Regions from separate parts of the Homo sapiens genome. Here region 2 is linked to region 1. The links are contacts of gene promoters, found by promoter capture Hi-C in human tissues and cell types (Jung and others, 2019). All regions are on one chromosome and are shown on one strand. Each heading gives the region's core, a stretch centred on a gene start or on the middle of the fragment in contact. The rest is flanking DNA. Distances are from core to core; before and after follow the strand shown. Region 1 holds the start of DPH7 (diphthamide biosynthesis 7). Region 2 overlaps EHMT1 (euchromatic histone lysine methyltransferase 1).

Region 1 (7,616 bases), core at 1,749-4,248:
CAGGGAGTATGAGTGAGACTCTGTCCTTGTCTTGCGGCAGGAGTGGTGGGGTTGCTAAGTCAGCTGCCCGCTGTTTTATGGGGAGTAGGATGCTCTCGCCCCTGACATTGGTTAGTTCTTGCCTGATTTATGCATGAAGTGGCTGGGAGCTCAGCAGTGAGCTTCTGCCCAGAAGAATCCACAGGGCATGTTCAGCAGGCCTGCTGCAGATGGTGGAGGGGGCTGGCCAGCCAGGGTGAGGTGAGGGTCTCACTTCTCCGTCCGTCTGCAGGGCTGTGGTTTCCAGGATAGCCCTCCCTCTCCTTGGGGAGCCCCAGGTGTCTGGGGCTGGTCAGCATCTTGTACCCATAGAGCTGCCCCAGGGAAACATGCCAGGCTGTGTGGCTGGGATCCTGCCTGTCTCCAGGTGCGCCCAGCCAGAGGCCTTGCTTCTTGGGAGCTGGAAGCCTGGCCAGTCCGACTCTGACCTGTCTGGTCTGGTCCGGTCCGACCCTGTGTTGGTCCCACAGGTTGCTGCTACACTTTCCCTTCTTGAAGCTCCACTGCCATGTTCCAGGACACCCTGTGTGTTCTCATTGCTGCCCCTGGCTGGGCTGGCTTTTGTCTGTAAGCAAAACTTCCAGTACCTTTTCTGGCAGTACCCTGGGGGCTCCTGAAGAACAGGACTGCTGAAAATGGGTGATATCAACAAACTCCGCAGGATTTCCTGGAGCTTAGAGAACTGCATGTGCCCACATCAGGCCCTGAGAAGCCCCCTTAGCTGCTGCAAAGGTTGGGGACATTTTTTGCTGAGTAGGTGAAAGCTGCCAGGGAGGGGGACATATGTGTCCCTAGAGATGGCGGGTCAGCAGGTTGGGGTTTGGGGCAGTCTTCAGGCCTGGAGCCCCGAGTGCCCTCAGGCAGCCTGCTTTCAGATAGAGTCTGAGGATGAGCACGGAGTGCAGGGGTCCCCTTTACCTGCATCCAGGGGTGTGGCCATGTTGCCCCTGACCAGCAGGGCTGCTTTGTTTGGCAGTCATTCATCAGAAAAGTGCACTGAAAGAAGCGCCCAGGGCCTCCCACCTGTGAGACACCACGCTGGGGAAGGGGGCGGTGCAGGTTCTAGGTTTGCATGTGGCAGCTCCTCCAGGCCTCACCCCAGCAGGTGGCACCGTGAGGGTGGGACGGGCCCCACCACTGCTTCCCTCTCACCTGATACCCAATCCTCTGGTCATCTTTCCCGTTCCGTGGCCCCGACTTCTTGGTCTTCGTAGCCAGGTATCTAAGACGTCCTGTGAGGACATCCAGATGGCTGCAATGTGGGGCTGCTTCTAAAGCTTGTTTGGAGTGTGGTGTGTTGGGATGCGCACCTGGTCACTCTCCCTCCCCCGCAGAGGTGTGTGGTTGAGGCCCTTTTGGAATGCCCTGCTGCCTTCCTGGCCAGCCTTTTCTGCGCCTCTGTCTCTGTGGTGGTCTGAGCTGTTGGCTCTCTGCCATGTCTTTAGCCACAGCCCTGCTTGAAGCCCTGAGGCTGAATACCCAGGCACCCGTATATTTCAGTCAAGTCCGCCTTAGCTTCCTGGAGCTGCCGCAACAAAGCAGCGCGAGCTGTGCAGCCTGAAGCAGCGGGAATTCACAGTCTAGGCTCTGGAGGCCGGAGTCTCAGATGAAGGCGCAGGCAAGGGCCCTCAGGTGCGGACGCCTCCTCCCTGCCAGGTGCCTTGCCTGCCTCCCTGTGCTCTGCACAGCAATGGCCCTGCAAGTCTTCTGCATCAGCTTTCTCTTCTGCGGACTCCTGCTCCTCTGGGTCAGGGCCCACGCCTGCTGCTTCTGAGAGCCCCTGTTTGTTAAGGATGCTCTCTGAGGTGCTGGGGTCTTCAGTCCATTGTTTTTTGGGGGGCACAGTTCAACCTGTAACGGCCCAAGGGGTTCTTCCTGCCCGCTGCACACATTCAGACCGTGGATTGCAATAAAGAAAAAAAGTTTAGGGCCGGGCGCAGTGGCTCACACCTGTAACCCCAGCACTTTGGGAGGCCGAGGCGGGTGGATCACGAGGTCAGAAGATCGAGACCATCCTGGCTAACACGGTGAAACCCCGTCTCTACTAAAAATACAAAAAATTAGCTGGGCGTGGTGATGCGCGCCTGTAGTCCCAGCTACTGGGGAGGCTGAGGCAGGAGAATGGCTTAAACCCGGGAGGCGGAGCTTGCAGTGAACTGAGATCGCGCCACTGCACTCCAGCCTGGGTGACAGAGCAAGACTCCGTCTCAAAAAAAAAAAACAAAAAAATTAATAGACACGGGCCGGCCAGGCCACATGTGAGATGGAGTTCGTCCTCAGATCATCTTGTCCAAAGCTCCTAGGTTAGGGGTTTTTTCAAAGGCAGTTTTGGGGGAGGGGGGCGGCGGCCAGGCGACTGGTGCTGATAATCATAGGGGTCGGAGCCGTCCACCTGCTGAGCCGCTTCTGGGGGGTCCTGATGCAGCCACGGGTGTCAGACAAGCAAAGACCCTGGAAGGCGGTCTCTGAGGGGCAGCTCCGCCATGGCGGGTTCACAGGAGGCAGGCAGAGCGCGCCTGCGGCCTCGGGGTGCTGGGCTTAGTGGGGCGCGGGCTCCTCATCAGCTTTACGAAGGCGTTGATTCCGGGGCAAGGCCTGTCATGGAAACTGCAGCCTAAATGTTAAGTCAGCGCGGCCCGATGGCCAGGAGTAACCGGGAGGGCGCCACGGGGTGCGCTACCGCAGCTCGCTGTTGGGGTTTTTCTCAGTGATAGAAATTTTGCAGAGGCGGCTTCAAACCTACGGCTCTGTCACTAACTTGCCGTCTCCAAACCTGCTTTGTGGAGGAGCGGATTTCCCGAAGCCTTCGGTCTCTACGGCCCCGCAGGGAGCAGCGCGTCTGACGCCTGAAGCCCGCCGCGGTCAGCCGGCCGACAGGGGGCGTGGGAGCCTGGCTTCCCAGGGGCGTCCACGGAGGCCAAGGCCCTGCCGGATGTCCCGCCCCGGCACCCCGGAAGGAGTCGCGAGAGAGGCGGCCCGCGCTGACGGTGTCCCTGGGGCTCTGCGCTCGTCCGGCCGGCCCCGGCCTCGCCGCCCCGCGCAGTACCCAGCCCGGCCCCGCCGACCCGCCTCTACTGCCGGCTCCGCGCCCTTCCCCGAGGGCTGGATGATGGGCTGTTTCGCCCTGCAAACGGTGGACACCGAGCTGACCGCGGACTCGGTGGAGTGGTGCCCGCTGCAAGGCTGCAGGCACCTGCTGGCGTGCGGGACCTACCAGCTGCGGCGGCCGGAGGACCGGCCTGCCGGCCCCCAGAACAAGGTGCGCGCGCCGCGGCTTCGGGAGGGGAGGGCGGGGCCGGCCACGAGGTTGAGGCCGAAAGGCGCACCGAATCGCCCAGGAGATGAAGAGGGGATATTGGCCCTTTGGCCAGGAGGTAGGCTGGAAACAGTTTAGAATCTTTTTAAAAAAATTGTTCTCGGCCGGGCGCAGTGGCTCACGCCTGTAATCCCAGCACTTTGGGAGGCCGAGGCGGACGGATCACGAGGTCAGGAGATCGAGACCATCCTGGCTAACATGGTGAAACCCCGTCTCTACTAAAAAAATACAAAACAATTAGCCGGGCGTGGTGGCGGCGCCTGTAGTCCCAGCCACTCGGGAGGCTGAGGCAGGAGAATGGCGTGAACCCGGGAGGCAGAGCTTGCAGTGAGCCGAGATCGCACCACTGCATTCCAGCCTGGGCGATACAGCAAGACTACATCTCAAAAAAAAGAAATTACTTTTTTCTGAGACAAGGTCTTGCACTGTCACCCAGGCTGGAGTGCAGCCTCGGACTCCAGGGCTCAGGGCATCCTCCCGCCTCAACCCCCTGAGTAGCTGGCACCACAGGCACGAGCCACCGCCCCCGGCCAACTTTAAAATCTTGAGAGCAGAACGTCTTCTATATACAGGTGTGGCCCAAGGGAATGGGTGGAATGTACAGTAAAGAGAAAGTGGGAATTATATCTTAACTTCTGGTGGGTACATATTAGGATCCAAATTGGGCACTGGAACAACAGGCGTAAGTCAGGACTGTCCCAGGCAAACTGGGTTCTGTGGTTACCCTAGCCATAGCTGGTCCCTGTTGGCCGGTTTAGAAGGAGCCTTCTCTACTGGGTCCAGGAGTGTTCACCTACTCATTAATAGACGTTTCTCCAGCTCAGAAAACCAGAGGTTCTCCTTCCAGGCAGAATTCCACTCCTTTAGTCATGGCAAACCTTTGAGTTCCTTGGATCCCTTTTCCCATCCTTTGGGTTCCTTCGTGTCTTGGGATAATCAGAGACTACCTCTGCATTTTTTGTAGGGTGGAATGGAAGTTAAGGAGCCTCAGGTCCGTTTAGGCCGTCTCTTCCTGTACAGTTTCAATGACAACAACTCTATTCACCCTCTGGTCGAGGTCCAAAGAAAAGATACTTCTGCAATCCTGGACATGAAATGGTATAACTGTGATAATCCCACTGGGTGTAGAATTTGTCATGAGTAGCAATCAGGGAAGCCTGATGCCTGATGCCTTCAACAAGACAGGCATTGCATCTCAACTTTGGATTTGTTTCTTTGCTGTCCCGCCTATCTTCCACCTGGGGAGTGCTTTACCTGGGGCTTATTTCCTTTGTCATGTTCCAGCCGGGGAAGTGATGGGAGTTTTCTGACTTCATAACCTGGGGCGTCTTTTGTTTGAGAACACAGTTGTAGGCTCTAGCCCACTTTTGGAGCTGAGATTTAAATGCAGTGGTGTGTGGCATAATTATGTTTTGGTCAACAATGGAGCACGTATACCATGGTGGTGCCTTAACGTAATGGAGATGCCCTATACAGGTGTACCAGTTTTTATCCTTTTTAATTTTTTTTTTTTTGAGGCAGGGTTTTGTTCCGTTGCCCAGGCTGGAATGCAGTCACGTGATCATAGCTCACTGCAGCCTTGAACTCCTGGGCTCAAGCAATTCTCTGTCTCAGCCTCTCGAGTAGCTGAGACTTCAGACTTCAGGTAGATGCCACCATGCCTCTTTTTTTTTTTTTTGAGACGGAGTCTCGCTCTGTCGCCCGGGCTAGAGTGCAGTGGCGCGGTCTCGGCTCACTGCAAGCTCCGCCTCCTGAGTTCACGCCATTCTCCTGCGTCAGCCTCCCTAAGAGCTCGGTCTACAGGCGCCCGCCACCACACCCGGCTTATTTTTTTGTATTTTTAGTAGAGACGTGGTTTCACCATGTTATTAGGATGGTCTTGATCTCCTGACCTCGTGATCCACCCGCCTCAGCCTCCCAACGTGCTGGGATTACAGGCGTGAGCCACGACGCCTGGCCTTACCACACCTCATTTTTGTTTGTTTGTTAGTTTGTAGAAACAGGGTCTTGCTATGTTGCTCAGGCTGGTTTCGAACTCCTTACCTCAAGTCATCCTCCTACCTCAGCTTCCCAAAGTGTTGGGGTTACAAGTGTGAGCCACCATGCCCGGCCACCTGTTTTTTATCCTTTATATTGTATTCTTACTGTATCTTTTCTATGTTTAGATATACAACCACTTCCTGTTGTGTCACACTTGCCTGCAGTAACATGCTGTAAGGTTTGTGGCATAGGAGCAGTGGGCCATACCATATAATCAAGGTGTGTAGTAGGATGTCCCAGCTGGGTTTGCGTGGACTGCAGCCCCGTTGTTAAGGGAAGCGTGACTGTGGTTACCGGGACGCACAGTGCACGCCTGTGCTCCGGGCACATTGGTGTGCTTATGGTGGGCCCTCTCCTCAGGTGTCACATCCCGGTGGCTGGACATGCCCTCTTGGGCTTGGCAGATGCCAGTGGATCCATACAACTGCTCCGCCTGGTGGAATCTGAGGTCAGTGACTTGCACTTGTTCTGTGGGGCAGAAGGGACCTGAATAGAGAGGGTTGGGGAGGAGGCTGTGCTGATACAGACATTTTTCTAAAACGATCTCTCTTCAATGGTGAGCTATATATAAACGTTCTAAGATAATGTGGAGTCTATTTTTAAGTTGTATTGCGTTCTACATCCAACTCCAAGAGGAAGTCACCTCATGTGTCACCAGCAGAAGGGCTGAAGTGACAGGATGTTCATTGACCTGTCAGTGGATCTGAAAGTTCTCTAAGGAGAGCCTGGGCAAGCATTCTTAGGTTGATGCTGGGGCCCAGAGTAGCAGTGAGCATCCTGTGTGAAGATGGCATTTCTCACTGATTATTGGAAAAGCACGTGAGTCCTGTGTGAATTTTTCCGAGTTTCTCACAGTGCTCTGGAGCCATGCATTAACAAAGTGACTTCATCTGATAGCTGTCGGGGAGGAGAACGGGGATGTCCCGTAGTGGGGTGATGTAAACAGCCTGAAACCACGCCCTCACTCCGATGCAGATGCTGCAGGCGGGGCTGGGCCAACCGAGGGCCTGTGTAGGAAAAGGCCTTGCTTAAGGCAGCTTAGAGCAGTTGCCCTGTCTTAGAAAGGAGGGAAAGAGCAGCCACAGGAAAGCTGTGGGCCCAAGGGAGGAGTGCATGAACCCAGGAAAGGGCTTTGGTACAGCAGCCTGCTGGGAGCAGGGATGGAGTTAAGCACTGGCCAGGCTGTTTAGGAAATGAAATTTATATAGATCTGCATAAAGAGCAACCACGTTCTCATGGCTGCTCGCGGCTTCTGAAGTGGAAACCAGAGGAGTTTCCCCATTGTCTCTGTCTCGGGAGGCGAGTGTTCCAGTGGCCCTGGAGGCCTGGGGTGGGAAACTGTGTGTGCCACTGTGGTCTGGAGCCTGCACAGGCATCTCGACAGCATCTAGGAGCGCAAGGATGGCAAGGGGGTGTGAAAGGGAGGGAGACCATGCCCCAAGATCAAGCCTGTGGGAAAGTTGTCCTGCAAGTGTGAGGAGTGTGAGCTCCAGTGTCCCCAGGTCTTCTCGGGGCCCCTAGCAGGGGTTTCAGTGTTAGGTGGAGGTGTGACTCAGTGACTGATGTACTTCATTCGCATAGGTTGTAAATGAGGGAACGATGACTTCCCTGCAGGAGAGGAAAAGTCTTTTGGGGGTTCTGGGGCGGCTACTTCCCTTTGATGGAGTTTCTTCTTCTCCAGTAGAAGAGCCACGTGCTGGAGCCATTGTCCAGCCTTGCCCTGGAGGAGCAGTGTCTGGCTTTGTCCCTAGATTGGTCCACTGGGAAAACTGGAAGGTAAGGGCCAGGCTTGGTCAGGGGTCCTGAGTCTTTCTCTGAGAACCACTTCCACTTTTCAGGCTAGAGGGCTCCAGCCACCTTCAGCGAGCTGCGACTGTGCTCCTCAGCCCTGACATCATCACTGCCAGTCCTATTATGAAAAAAAGGTCCCCCATTTTAGATACATAGCGATAGTGTTTTTACCTAGAGAAGTCGACACTGGTGTCTTTGACAAGCTTAGCAGTGGTTGTGATCTTAGCCGCCAGTCTCTTAAGGGGCATATCCGCATCCCAGGGCTGTGGAGACCGTCTCTCAGGACTTGTTTGGGAACCAGAAGAGGCTGACGAATAACATTCTGCCGGGCTTCTTCATGGGTTCCCTGTGTCTAGGGCCGGGGACCAGCCCTTGAAGATCATCAGCAGTGACTCCACAGGGCAGCTCCACCTCCTGATGGTGAATGAGA
Region 2 (6,945 bases), core at 1,976-4,475, 130 kb before region 1:
GGAAAAAATGAACACCCCTTCATGGTCAAAACACTTAGCAAATGGTTTGCTAAGAAAAGAAAACTTCCTCAATCTAACATAGGGCATCTATGAAAAACTACAGCTAACATCACACTTAAAGGTGAAACCCGGGAAGCTCTCTCCCTAAGATCAGAAACCAGACAAGGATGTCCAGTCTTGCCACTTCTATTCAACCCTGTACTAGAGATTCGAAGTAGGGCCATAAGGAAGAAACAGAAATAAAAAGAATGCAGATTGGAATGGAAGAAACCAAATGAGCCCTAAAGATGACACAAGCTTTTATGCAGAAATTCCCAAGGAAGTTTAAATCATTAGAACTAATAAACGAGTTTAGCAAGGTTATAGGATATAAGATAAATATGCAAAAATCAATTTTTTTTAACTTTTTTTATTTTTTGAGATGGAGTCTCGCTGTGTCACCCAGGCTGGAGTGCAATGGCATGATCTCTGCCCACTGCAAGCTCTGCCTCCCGGGTTCAAGTGATTCTCCTGCCTCAGCCTCATGAGTAGCTGGGATTATAGGTGCGAGCCACCACATCCCGCTAATTTTTGTATTTTTAGTAGAGATGGGGTTTCACCACGTTGGCCAGGCTGCTCTTGAACTCCTGACCTCAAGTGATCTGCCCACCTTGGCCTCCCAAAGTGCTGGGATTACAGGCATGAGCCAGTGTGCCCAGCCAATCACTTGTATTTCTATACAGTATCAATGATCAAAATGAAAAAGAATTTTTAAAACAATTCTATTTAAAATAGCATCAAAAAATATAATACTTAGGGGCCAGGCACAGTGGTTCACGCCTGTAATCCCAGCACTTTGGGAGGCCAAGGCGGGTGGATCATGAGGTCAGGAGATGGAGACCATCCTGGCTAAGATGGTGAAACCCCGTCTCTACTAAAAATACAAAAAAAATTAGCCGGGCATGGTGGCAGGTGCCTGTATTCCCAGCTACTCGTGAGGCTGAGGCAGAAGAATGGCGTGAACCCGGGAAGCGGAGCTTGCAGTGAGCCGAGATCGTGCCACTGCACTCCAGCCCGGGTGACAGAGCAAGACTCCATCTCAAAAAAAAAAAAAAAAAAAAAAAATTAGCATGGTGTGGTGGCTCACACCTGTGGTCCCAGCTACTTGGGAGGCTGAGGTGGTAGGATTGCCTGAGCCCAGGGAGATGGAGGCTAGAGTAAGCCATGATCACACTCCAGCCTGGATTACAGAGGGAGACCCTGTCTAAAGAAAAGAAAATCTTACAATAAACCCTCACATTTAAAGCCAACTGATTTTCAACGAGGGTGCAAGAACAATTCAATGAGGGAAGAAAGGTCTTTTTCATAAATGTTGCTGGGACAACTGATTATCAACTTGCAAAATAATAAACTGGGACCCCTACTTCAAACCATATACAAAAATTAACTCAAAATTGATCGAAAACCTAAATAAAAGAGATAAAACTATAAAACTCCAAGAAAAAATAAATGTAAATGTTTGTGACCTTCTATTAAGTAATGGTAAGTTCTTAGGTTTTAGACCAAAAGCACCAGCAACTAAAAGGAGGAAAAAAACAGGTAAGTCGGACTTCATCAAAATTGAAAACATTTATACTTCAAAGGACACCATCAAGAAAGGGGAAAGACAAGCCACAGACCGGAAGAAAATATTTGCAAATCCCATGGCTGATAAGGGACTTCTGCTTATATAAAGAACACTGAAAACTCAACAATAAAAATCAATCCAATTTGAAATCACAGGAGAAGAGATATTTCTCCAAAGAAGCTCTAAAGATGGCCAGTAAGCACACGAAATGATGCTCAACATCACTGGCCGTCAGGAAAATGCAAACCAAAACCACAATGAGATGCCACTTCCCACCCGCCAGGACAGCCACAGACACTAAGAAATGGTGGCGAGGACGTGGAGAACCTGGAGCCCTCTGCAACTGCTGCAGGGAAAGCAAGATGGGGCAGCCACCGTGGGGGTCCAGCAGTTCCCCCAGGGTGGAGAGGCCGTGGCTCAGCGGCAGTGTGTAAGGGAACAGGGCACAGGCAAAGCCTAAAGCGTAATGGAATAACCTGGGGCTTGTGGCATCTGGTGTCACGTAGGAAACAAGTTCCACTAGGAAGGTCAAAGGAGGGGTGACCAGGGAGAGAAGGGGGAAGAGCCGGAGGGCACTGGAGCCAACAGAAGAAACAGTTCAAAGACACAGAAAGGACGGCAACAGGAAGGGGCCAAAGTACAGGAAGAAAACACCCAGTCAGGCTGCAGGAGGTGGATGGCGCAGGAGGTGGGGGCAACCCTGGAGGGCCGGCTAGGGGTAGCGGCAGAGGCGGGCAGCGGTCACCACAGTGCACAGCCAGTGGGTGGACGAGAACCCACAGGCACAGCGAGGCCATCTAGGGTGAAAGGAGAACACGGCAGGGGCCACAGCCCACAGTCCATGAGGAGCCAGGCCTTGCGCGCTGTCTGGAGAGGAGCAGGCTCCAGCTGGGAGAGCCTTAGGCAAGTCCAGTGTCTGAGCTGCTCCCACGGCCGCCACCCTTATGGGTCCAGCCAGAACACCACTCTCCCTTCACTGTGGAGCACAGCACAGCTCGTCTGGCGCCACCTGCCCTCATTTCCTGGGGGCGCTCTTGGTGGTGCAGGCTCTCCAAGAACATCCGAACCCTATGTGTGCGCCACGCCTTACAGAGGGGTGCAGCCCCGCCGACTCCCCTCGCCCCAACTCCCCTCACCCTGCCTCTCTGCAGACACTTGCTTCCACACCACTCCCTCCACCTCCTGGTAACCACTGCTGTTCTCCAAGTGTCTGCCATAAAATTGGAGTCATGCAGCTTGTGGCCCTTTGGGTCTGGCCTCCTTCACTTAACAAACCGTACAAAAGCTTCATCCATGGCGCGGCGTCAGTCATGCTGTGTGCTCTTCTGGGCTGCTGACCGCTGTCCCACTGTGTGGATGTACCACGATCTGTTTATCCAGTTCCTTATCAACTGAGGACACCGGAGTGTCTCCGGTTTTCGGCGACGTGACAATGCTGCTATAAACATTTGTGTGGCCACTCACTTTTAATTTTCTGGGTGTACTTTAAGACAAGGATATACAGGATTTTTGCTTTTCATACTTTGACAAATGTGTTCCTTCTCTGGCAGAGCTTTTGTGTTTGTCTGTGCAACTGTGCTATTTAGGAATGGGATAGATTAGAAACTATACCATAAACCTAGGTGAAGCAAAGAAAGTCAGAAGACGGGGACTAATAAGAGAGGAAGAGCAGCAGGTTTTCTAGTCTGGAGGGAGGCGCTGCTCCTGTCCCTCGGTGCACACCGCCCTCACCTTCTCCCAGCAGCTCGGTTTTCACACAGCAATCCTGCTGAGGCTCCCCCCTCGCCGGAACTGCCTGTTAGAGAGAAACAACAGCCGTCAGCCGGGTTCAGTGGGAGGCCGCTTTTCCAAATGGACATCATTTGGAAAAAGTCAAAAAATCGTAGTTACAACATTCACCATGAGCTGCTGGACAGTCAGATTTACTCCTGCCAGCTGGTTACAGTCGCCTCCAGCAGAAGAACTGGCATTCAGAACACAGTCCAAGGAAACTTCTCCTGTATTTCTATTTTTGAAGACAGTTTCTTAACAATAAGAACGCATTCATGTATCATTTATATAATTAGATATCTGAAATCTTTGGGCTCTGTTACAGGAGTGTTACAATTTATTTCAAAATGCATTCTACTGCTGACAATAATTCATATATTTCAAATGTCCAACCTCCTACAAAAAATTATAGAAATAGATAAATCAAGAAAATTCAATAAGGAACTTAAATCACTAAATCTTTGAGATTAAGCATCTATAGAGGTATGTATTATACAAGGCCTCTTACAATTTTTTTGTTGAGACAGAGTTCACTCTCTCGCCCAGGCTGGAGTACAGTGGCGCGATCTCGGCTCACTGCAACCTCTGCTTCCACAGTTCAAGCGATTCTCAGGCCTCACCCACCTGAGTAGCTGGGACTACAGGTGCACACCACCACACCCAGATGCTTTTTGTGTTTTCAGTAGAGATGGGGGTTTCGCCATGTTGGCCAGGCTGGTCTCAAACTCCTGGCCTCAAGTGATCCGCCCGCCTCAGCCTCCCAAAGTGCTGGGATTAGAGGTGTGAGCCACTGCACTTGGGTGGCACTTGGACAGAATTTTTTTTTTTTTTTTTACACAAAAATCCTTGCCTTCAAGAAGCTTAGAGTCTGGTTGGAGAAGTGAACATAAACACATAAAACACTCCTAGCCAGGCCTCTCCCGACGCAGCAGCAGGACCATGGAGTCCATAAGGAGGCAGCAGGGAGTCTGCAAATGCCCCACCCACAGCTGGGGGCCGGGGAAGAGGGCTGCTGACCACTCTGGGCAGTTGGAGATGCCAGACTGCAAGTGGGAGCTGTCAGGCTGACACCCACACCTGGTGATGTGATACTGGAGAAAGCCCTCTGGTGAGGCCACTGGAAGCTGGAAGTGGGCAGGAAGCCTCCGGGTCAGAGTGATAAAATAGGAACAACTGAGGGAGGCACACTTGGTGCTCCGAGTCCACAACCAGAAGAGGAGAGGCACAGACTTGCCCGAGGTCACTAGGAGCAGCCAGTCAGACAGCTGCAGGAGGCCAGCCACGCACTGATTCCATCTTTAATTGACTATCAACAGGTAAGAAGAGGCTGCAAAAACCCGGGTGTCCAGCGTCTGGATGAGAAAACATGTCAACAATGGGGCCTCTCAACAGAACCCCTCCTCCCCACAAAGCAGACGCCAGGCCAGCCCCTACCTGAGCCCGGATGTGCCTACTGCTTTCCAGGGCTCACATCCATATGGTCTCGCTGCCTTCTGGGCTGACTTGGTAACACCGGACCTAACTGCATCACCCTCCCCAGGAGCTGGTCTTAGCAACTGTGCACAGCCCACCCCACCACGGTAAGGCAGGGGGGCCCAGGTTTCCACCTCCCACCCCCTGATCTCCCACTGCCAAGCCAGGGCCAGCAGCCCAGCTGCTCATGGCCAGCCCTCGAACATGCAGAGCACGCTACCTTTCCTGGTCCATCACAGCTGTACGCCAGCCAGCTCAGCCTGCACCCTTCACACCTACCCCCCAACAGGAGCTCTCCGGGGTCCCTGCAATCCTTCCAGGAGTCCAGGAGGTCAAAACTATTTTCATGGTAATACTAGGACCTCAATTGCCTTTTTCACTGTGCTGATATTTGCACAGACGGTGCCCAAGCGGTGGTGTCAGCCCCTTTGCATCGACCAGGTCAGGACACCGAAGTGTACTCCAGCAACTGAACTCTTGACCAGCAGGCACTTGGGGGGCTCGCCTGAGAGTGCCCTGGATGAGGCAGTGAGATGATGGCCTGTGAGCACAGCTCTCCAGCGTTCCACATCAGAGGAAGGGGGCAGGCAGCAGGCCAGGCACAGTGGCTGCGTGGAACCCGAAGCTTTCCTCACTCACAGAGCATCTTCACTTAAAAGAACAACTGGCAAAATGTATGCCACTCAGACCTGAACATACCACTCAGGCCTGGACATGCCACTCAGACCTGGACATGCCACTCAGGCCTGGACATGCCACTCAGTCAGACCTGGACATCTGGCAGACATTTCCACAGAACAGAGTGAGCCTCAAAGAAAACAACCAGTAGTATTTGTTGCCAATGTTAAAACTCTACCTTTTGAATTTTCGAAACACATGTAAATGTGTATCTGTCCCCATGAGCTTGAAAGTTTCTCCATATTTATGACTTTTCTTATTACATGAGCGGTATCATTAGTGACTATGATTTTTGATACCATATAATAAAATGTGTCAACATGGGGAAGATCTTCCTAACAAGGTGAGCTGACACTCCCCAAATGCCCAGTGCCTAATATTCAAAATCACGCATGGGACAAAGATGCATCCAAGATGGGCTTTAATGTCACAGAGGAAGAAGGTCATTGGCACAGTTTCACCTTGTTGAGTTTTCGTGTCATATCAAAGCAGAATAGCTGCAATTATCTGAAAAGATATCAAAATACTTCCCCCTTGCCAACCACATGTCTATGGGAGACCAGATTTTCTTCAGACAGTATCACCTCAGGCTGGGTGCAGAAGCCAATCTGCAAATCCAGCTGACTCTTCGATTAGCCAGACATGACAGAGATGGACCAACATGGAAAACAATGCCATTCAACTGAGTTTTTTTCATTCAGAAAAAGTACTTTTCACAGAAACTGCTGTATTCCCTAACATGTAAATAAAATGTTACATGTTTACTTTTATTATTTTTTAAAAATGTGATTTTTAACTTTTCAGTTTTCATTTCTTTTACAGTAACTATCATTAGATACAACCCAATAAACAAGAGCCCTCTGGGGTCCTCAATACTTTTAAGAGCAGGGCCTTGAGGCACACCAAAGACACCCTGCCTGCCACGGCACAGCTCTGCCGACAAGGTCTCCTGGCCTGAGATGAGCCGGGGTGGAGCATGGCAGGGCAGACCTTGTGAGGCTGCCGGGGTCTACAGGCATTTTTGGGCACCAGCTGTGCCCCTCACATGCTGTCCCCTCCTGGAGGCACCCGCCAAACCCCACTCCATCTCACAGTCCTCATCACCACCACCAGCCACAAATCCTACCCACGAAATTAAGTTTTGTAATCTTTTGAAAAAATGTTTAAGAATGCTATGTAACACACTACCGAATAATGTCTAGAATCATCCACCATTCTGCTGTGTGTCCAATTCAACTGCACTCAGGAATCCTCTGACAAGCACTGACCAACATGCCAGGCCTCATACCAGTGTTAGGGCCAGAAACACAGCACAGATGCCTCTGCCTGGTCTGTAGCATCCCCAGTGCTCACTTCCATTAAGGGACAGCTGAGGATGGCCCAGGGCAGAGGCGAAAGGAAAAGGGGGCACCGGGGAG

Evidence for each region. Contacts are between HindIII fragments. The study calls those that stand out against the background at their distance.
Region 2: a contact is called between a fragment that was not itself captured here and the fragment with the promoter of DPH7 in region 1, in 4 of the 25 tissues and cell types used here (H1 embryonic stem cells, aorta, lymphoblastoid cells and 1 more).

What each region holds. Positions count from the first base shown.
Region 1 is chr9:137,574,307-137,581,922 of GRCh38, reverse strand. DPH7 (diphthamide biosynthesis 7) reads left to right here and starts at 2,998. Exons shown (of 9, transcript NM_138778.5): 1 at 2,998-3,298; 2 at 4,320-4,453; 3 at 5,756-5,843; 4 at 7,080-7,171; 5 at 7,543-7,616. The coding sequence starts at 3,146. RefSeq lists enhancers at 2,593-2,652, 1,747-2,718, 5,453-6,262, 6,192-6,486 and a silencer at 2,903-3,312. The HindIII fragment of the contact is 7,311 bases long and covers 537-7,616 here.
Region 2 is chr9:137,707,423-137,714,367 of GRCh38, reverse strand. It overlaps EHMT1 (euchromatic histone lysine methyltransferase 1), which reads right to left. Exons shown (of 27, transcript NM_024757.5): 2 at 3,338-3,401. Among named protein-coding and RNA genes, the nearest start is that of EHMT1, 92 kb to the right of the region's middle. RefSeq lists an enhancer at 4,910-5,871. The HindIII fragment of the contact is 3,261 bases long and covers 1,595-4,855 here.